2 separate regions of the Homo sapiens genome follow, and region 1 is linked to region 2. The links are contacts of gene promoters, found by promoter capture Hi-C in blood cells and fetal thymus (Javierre and others, 2016). All regions are on one chromosome and are shown on one strand. Each heading gives the region's core, a stretch centred on a gene start or on the middle of the fragment in contact. The rest is flanking DNA. Distances are from core to core; before and after follow the strand shown.

Region 1 (3,798 bases), core at 551-3,050, 860 kb after region 2:
GCCAAGGTGAGCAGATCCCCTGAGGTCAGGGGTTCAAGACCAGCCTGGCCAACATGGTAAAGCCCTGTCTCTACTAAAAATACAAAAATTAGCCGGGCGTTGTGGTGGGTGCCTGTAGTCCCAGCTACTTGGGAGGCTAAGGCAGGAGAATTGCTTGAACCCGGGAGGTGGAGGTTGCAGTGAGCAGAGATCATGCCACTGCACTCTAGCCTGGGCAACAGAGTGAGACTCCATCTCAAAAAAAAAAAACAAAAACAAAAACCCAAAAACAAAAAACCTGGCTAGGCCGGGTGCAGTGGCTCACACCTGGAATCCCAGCACTTCGGGAAGCTGAGGCAGGTGGATCACCTGAGCTCAGGAGTTCAAGACTAGCCTAAGCTAGCACCCAGCTAGCCCTGAGAAGTAAATGAGCAGCTTGATAAGCAAGAAGGTAATAGTAGTCTAAAACAACAGGCCAAGGAAGTGGAAGTTAGAGTCAGATACTTGGTTCCCCTATAGAAACTGAACTTAACATCTTGACATACGTTCCTGAGTTGTTTTTCAGAAACCCAGACCCCCACCGAACTGATCTGTGGCACATAGACCTCTGATAAGGGGGAACTGAAGACTGAATTCTGGACTACCATCCTTTGTTCTAAATTTCTTCTTGAAGGGCCTGGAGGGAGTCACACATGTGAGCCAGAGCTAACATTCTTTCCTGATGGACCCTAAATTTATAAACAAAGCTTCTTTTCATTAACTAATTGCAAATCAGAAAATCTTTTAATCTACCTATGACCTGTAGGCCCCATCTCTACAAAAAAACAAAAAAACAAAAAAGAAGAAAGAAAAAATTAGCCAGGTGTGATAGTGCATAGCTGTAGTTGCTTGGAAGGCTTAGGTGGGAGGATAGCTTGGAAGGCTTAGGTGGGAGGATCGCTTGAGCCCAGGAGGCGGAGGTTGCAGTTAGCTGAGATTGTGTCACCATACTCTAGCCTGGGTGGAGTAGAGACTATGTCTCAAAACGCAAATGAACAAAAAACTAACCTGGCTCTAAAAATTCAATTTTTCTCTCAGTGAAAATTTTGGGATTGTGCTTCTGCATCTTTTAAGTGTGTAAGATTTTTGCTAGCTTCACCAGACACAAGAACCTAGGAGCTGCTGTAATAGGGGCTACTATTGGGAACTGGGTATTCATGAAGAGGAGGAGATGCAGTGGTATACTGGGCATTTATTAGCATAAGATAGATGCAATATTTTCTTTTATTTTTCTTTGTTTCCCCCCAGGAAATCATACGTGATGTGTAGGGAAGTGTGTGGGGCAGTGGAAGGAATGTGGACCGTTGCCTCCCTTCGCTTGTCTGGATGACCTTGGATGAGGTAACCGACCTTAGCTTCAGCCGTCTCATGGTACAATGGGGAAAGAAGCCTCATTTTCATTTTCCTGGCTGTGTGGGTTAGGAATGACGCTTCGAGGTGCGGAGCATTGACGCCGTGCTCAGGACTCTTGCACTTCACTTTGAACAGATGGGTGACTGGGTGCATGGCGTGGTTCTGAGGCCTGCTAACAGGAATGATTTATTTAGAAAGTCAGGTCTGGGGGCTGGGCACGGTGGCTCATGCCTGTAATCCCAGCACTTTGGGAGGCCGAGATGGGCGGATCATCTGAGGTCAAGAGTTCGAGACCAGCCTGGCCAACATGGTGAAACCCCATCTCTACTAAAAAAAAATATATATAAAAATTAGCTGGGCATGGTGACAGGTGCCTGTAATCCCAGCTACTTGGGCAGCTGGGACAGGAGAATCACTTGAACCTGGGAGGCAGAGGTTGCAGTGCGCTGAGATCCTGTCATTACACTCCAGCCTGGGTGACGAGTGAAACTCCATGTCAAAAAAAAAAAAAAAAGAAAGAAAAGAAAGTCAGGTCCAACTAAGTGATTCCCCGCCCCCCACCTTTTTTTTTAAAAGCAGGGTTGATGGGGAAACCTCCCTTCTGTTTCTGGAGGGGAGACCCCTGGTGCAGGGGAGCAGGCAAGTTCACACGTGTGGGGGCTGCACATACCGAAAGCGTGGGCCCATGGTTGAGAGCCAGCTCTTCCTGGGAGTTTCTTGACCTCTTGTGAAAGATGAAAAGTGGCATAAGATCTCCCTGGGGCACTTTATCAGGAGAGAGATCTTGGGCAAAAAAAATACTCCCTTTAAGAGAGTTTCTTCTCTAAATGGGAACGTGGCTTTTGAAGGCTGTGAAAGTAAAACACTTAAAATTGAAGAATGAATTCGAGGGCTATAAATGGGGCAGTTTCCACATGCTTCTATTCAGGCATATCTTTTGGTTTGGGGATTTTTTCGGCCTGATGATCTTCACTGGATTCCAGAAAAATGTTTCTAAGTGAATATTATTTAACCATTTTGTTGTACTGACTATACCTGGTAGGATAAAAGCAAGCCACACATTTTTTCATTTTCCTGGGACAGAGCAGGGACCCCATTTTAGGGCCCCCCAAGCATGGAAATAAAGGAAAATCTTGAGTTCCTTTAAGGGAAATTCCAGGTACCCAGCTAGCCCTGAGAAGTAAATGAGCAACTTGATGAGTAAAAAGATAGTAGTAGAGTAGTCTAAAACAACCGCCAGGGAAGTTAGAGTCAGATGCCTGGTTCCCTATAGAAACTAAAGATACCATCTTAACATATGTCCCAGAGTTGTTTTTCAGAAATCTGGACCCCCATCAAACAGATCTGTGGCACATAGGCCTCTGGGAAGGGGGACCTGAAGACTGAATTCTAGACCTGAATTATTTGTTCTAAATTTCTTCTTGAAGGGCCTGGAGGGAGTCACACCCACCAGCCAGAGCTAACATTCTTGTCTGATGACCTCAAATTTGTAAACAAAGCTTCTTTTTCATTAACTAATTATAAATCAGAAAATCTTTGAATTTACCTGTGACATGTAAGCCCGTTGTTTTAAGATATCCCGTCTTTTTGGGCCAAAACCAATGTGTAACTCCCATGTACTGACTTAGATTTTGCCTATCACCTTTGCTTTCGTGAGATTTACCCTTGCCTTTAGAAACCTTTTGGGCAAGCCATTGGGGAAGTCAGAATTTAAACATTCGCTGCTGGTCGTCCTGCTTTGTGCCTTGCAAATAAATGCCTTCCTTTCTGCCACGGCAGAACCCATGTGGATACCCGGTCTTACTGTGTTGGGCAAGCAGGCCCCACATCGGATCTACAACCTTCCCTCTGCCCCTTTAATGGTCTCTCTGGGTGTTTTGGGTAGACTCCAATATTTTCCCAGTCCCTCTCAGACCCATCTGGTATAACATAAAACCTTTAAACTCCTAGCTTGGCTAGTTGTCCTTCTAACATCCATCTCCCTTCTTCCTCAAGAATGGAATCCTGATTTTGTTTGGGTGTTAACGTGCCCAGACAGAAACCTCCCTTCCTCAGCCTCTGGTCCATCTGCACATTGCCAGGTGACACAGTCTGGTGATGAGTTACCATCTGATGGTTTTGGGCAAAGCTTTTGCTTTCGTGGCCTAGGCATGTTCCTTCTTTGCTTCCTTCTCTCGGTAGACAAACAAGAGGCCAGGGTATCAGCCATCTGTGGCCAAAGAATGGGGGAGTAAAACCAGGGTGAACACCCTCCTGGGACTGCCTCCTTTGGCATTTGCTGCATTTAAGATACCCTCTCCCGGATATGTGGAGACCACTGTCAGTTGGGTTTTCTTTTGCTTGCAGCTGAATGCAGTCCTTGATGACACATCTGGGGGCTGTGAGTGTTTGTGTGGGGCAGAGTGCTCCTGTGCCAACACAGCCTCA
Region 2 (3,339 bases), core at 469-2,968:
CGAAAGTCAAGGCAGGCAAACTCCCTTGCTGACCCCTTCTGTAAGGTTAGGTTATCATTTACCTTTATTGTGAGAGTGTAACCCTTGCACACTCCAGCTTTATAGTGGTATCTCCATGACACTCTCCACTGCTGTGGATCGTTGGCTTCCTTTCCTCCCTCCCACATCCTGAGCGGCTGCTCAGATAGAGCTCATGGTCCCAGGACTCAGCAGCTCTGCTTGCTTACCTCTGTGGTTCTCACTGTCAGCAACATTTTGGCTTCTGTGTGTTGGTCAGCAAGGATGCATCCACAGTGGCCAGGGAGGGTGTGCAGCAAGCCATTGGAGGGACGCAGATCAAGGCTTGACTTAGACCAGAGCCCTGCTTGATTGCCTTTACTTGCTTCCGTTTCCAAGTAGGATTTCAGTGTCATAAGAGAGCTTTCTCTACTTAAAAACTGTCAAAATGGTGAAAATCATCAGTTGAGGTCTTCTGAAAGGCCCAATTCCACTATTATATTGTGCTGTTCTAAGAAGTTAGTCATAAGTGGACACTGCTGCATTCAACATATGATTTTTAACCTCAGCTTGCCAGACTGTGGACTCAAGAACTCTAGGAAATGGTAAAGATGGCCTGGTGCCTCCTGGATGGGAGGTGGCCCCGGACCATGCCCAACAGCTGCCGGTAGCGGAGCAGGTACAGGTATGTGAGCATGGCACGGGGAAGCATCATGAGTACCTCACTGTTAGCTGCCAGGAGCCATGTGTGAGTCCCAGAGTCAATGTGGTGGTACCTGGTCAGCACCATGTCCAGGGAGAACACCACCCCTGTGCTCACGTACAATGTGATCAGCACTGAGTGGATCAGCAGGGTGCCCCTGGCCCGGGAATAGCCCTGCCCCCAGATGCCTGAAGTCTTGGCCTCTGCATAGATCCTCCAGAAACAGTTGGCAATGAGAGCTGTGCAGAGGAACAGAACGCACAGAATGGAGGTGTAGGTAACAATGACCAGGAGGCCACATCCCGGCTGGGTGCCCATGCTTGGTGGTAGGATGTATGAAGCTCCTTGCTCCTCCAGCTGGGCATCCTGCCACTTGCTGAGCCAAATAAGGAATGTGGGGAAGCAGCAGGCCACCAGCCAGATGAGGGCCACTGCCTTCCAGGCAGCCCCATGGGACATGAAGGAGAGGTAGCGCAGTGGATGGATGACTGCCAGGTAGGTGTGCAGCACAATGGCGGTGAAGGACAGGATGGTGCTGGTGCAGGCGGCGAAGACAGCATCAGTGAGAATGCCACAGGCCATGCGGCCCAGCTCCCAGCCACCCAGGCTGCTGGAGGAGATGAGCATGTGGAGGAGAATGTAGGCCAGGTCTGAGAGCAGGATGTTAGCCGGGAGCAGGTAGTGGGGCTCCTGTCGCAGCCGTTGGTTCCGCAGGATGGTCACCAGCAGCAGGGGGCTGACAGCCAGTGTGGCTGCAGCCAGCAGGCTTGAGGGAAGGAAAAGCCAGTACAGCATGGAGCTGGGCACCCTGAGGTCCCCCAGGCCCAAGGAAGTGTTGCTGGCTGCTTGGGGCATGCAGGGTGTCTTGCTGATGAGCTGGATCAGGGCCGGCCAAGCTGTAGTGCCCACAGGGCAAGGTGCCAGCTCATCCCCCATGCTTCCTGGCAGGGATGGCTGGCTTTGTCACAGGTTGTTGATTCTGCACCTGCCTTGAGTGTTGATCTGCCCCACAGGGGTCCTGATGGCACCACTCCTCTGTAGAGATGCCAGGCTCGGGCAGGCCTTAGGAATGACTGCTTAATAAAGATAAAAAAACCAATGTGAATTCAGACTCACACCTGGCTTCCTGCATTCACATCTCTGCAACTGTGCAGCTGCATGTGCGTGGGTAGACATAACAGATCATCCCACTGCCACCATTTTGCAGTCACTGACCCCTCCAGAAGTGTCCCCTATCTCAGTGGCCCCCAAACCTGTCTGCTTGGCTCACAGGGAGTGTGCAATGGATTCTCACCACACTGGATTATATTCCGGGCTGCCCTCCTAGAAAGGAAGGAGCAGCTGTCTGGAACTAGGATCGCTGGGCTGTAGACCTGGTCTGACCTCTGTCGAGCTAGAGGCTCAGCAAATTGGACCAGGCTGGAGGGGCCTGGGCGCACTCACATTTCCTCACAGAGCCTTGGGTATGGTCTCCAGCTCAGGGTGACCCTGTGCATGCGTGTGAGTGTGACTCCTACACCCCTTCCACTCAGGGCTCCATGTGAGTATTCGGTGCCCCCAAAATCTCAGCTGACTTGTGGGGTCGCTGTGTGGTAGAAACGTCCCTTCCTCTGGGGAGGAGGAGGCCTGGCAGGCAGAGACCTCATAGGAGCTAGTGGGGAGGAATGGAAGGCAGGTTCCCCAGGCACCTGGCTTGTCGGGGGTGGGGTGAGCTCAGTCAGAGCCAGTGGCCAGGGTGGCTGTTGGTGTTTGGGGATCCAGTTCAAGTGAACAAGCTCTCCCGCTCTCTCGAGGTGTTGGCTGCGTGGCCTTGAAAAGCTTTGTTCCAGTTTCCTTATCTGTGAAACACGAATGCCAACCACACTGACCTCAGGGAAACGTTGCGGAAGCCCAGAGGTAAGGGACTCAGCACAGTGCATAGCCTGAAGTAAATGCTGAGTCAATGTTAGCTCTCCCACCTACAGCATCCTCCGAGGCTCGGTCCCCTCTGCCCACAGATCCCTGTCATCACTGCAGAACGGGCTGCACTTGGCTGCTGGCAGCCTGAGACCCCTGCCCAACACCCACCGCCGGCCTGGCAGACTGCTCCAGAAGGCAGGAGCCGCGTGGGAACAGGCAGGATATTTTTAGGGCCAGGAAGAGGCAGAAATTTCAGACTCTGGGTGTGAGACCACGTCCACTGCTGCCCAGGGACCATGCTCGTCACAGCCCGAGACCACGTCCACCGCAGCCCAGGGACCACGCCCAGAACCGCCCCTGACCACGTCCGCCGCAGCCCGGGGACCACGCCCGCCGCAGCCCGGGGCCACGCCCACCACAGCCCCGGACCACCATCATCGCAGCCCTGGGACCACGCCCTCCATAGCCCAAGGCCACGCCCATCACAGCCAAAGACCACGCCCAGAACAGCCCCGGACCACGCCCGCCGCAGCCCGGAACCGCGTCCTCCTCTGAGAGCCTGTTACGCAGCTGCCAGGAGCAGCAGCGCCTGCGCCTTTTTGGCCGATTACGGTACAGAAACTAAAGGTGGTTCTGAGAAAGCCCATCACCCCTTCCAGAGAAACCGCGATGCCATGGGGCGGACCCCGCCTCCCTGCCCCAGCTGCCCTGGCCTGCACTCCCTAGGGGCCCCTTGTACT

Evidence for each region. The method cuts DNA at HindIII sites, captures the fragments that hold promoters and counts their contacts. A CHiCAGO score of 5 or more calls a contact.
Region 1: a contact is called between a fragment that was not itself captured here and the fragment with the promoter of GPR148 in region 2, in 1 of 17 cell types (non-activated CD4 T cells). The highest score is 5.5, in non-activated CD4 T cells.

The regions. Positions count from the first base shown.
Region 1 is chr2:129,863,723-129,867,520 of GRCh38, reverse strand. LINC02572 (long intergenic non-protein coding RNA 2572) reads left to right here. Exons shown (of 6, transcript NR_149127.1): 4 at 1,267-1,359. Among named protein-coding and RNA genes, the nearest start is that of LINC02572, 12 kb to the left of the region's middle. The HindIII fragment of the contact is 2,145 bases long and covers 728-2,872 here.
Region 2 is chr2:130,727,449-130,730,787 of GRCh38, reverse strand. It overlaps GPR148 (G protein-coupled receptor 148), which reads right to left and starts at 1,718. Exons shown (of 1, transcript NM_207364.2): 1 at 452-1,718. The coding sequence starts at 1,636. The coding sequence ends at 593. RefSeq lists enhancers at 1,989-2,567, 2,568-3,147 and a silencer at 2,916-3,085. The HindIII fragment of the contact is 6,760 bases long and covers 1-2,520 here.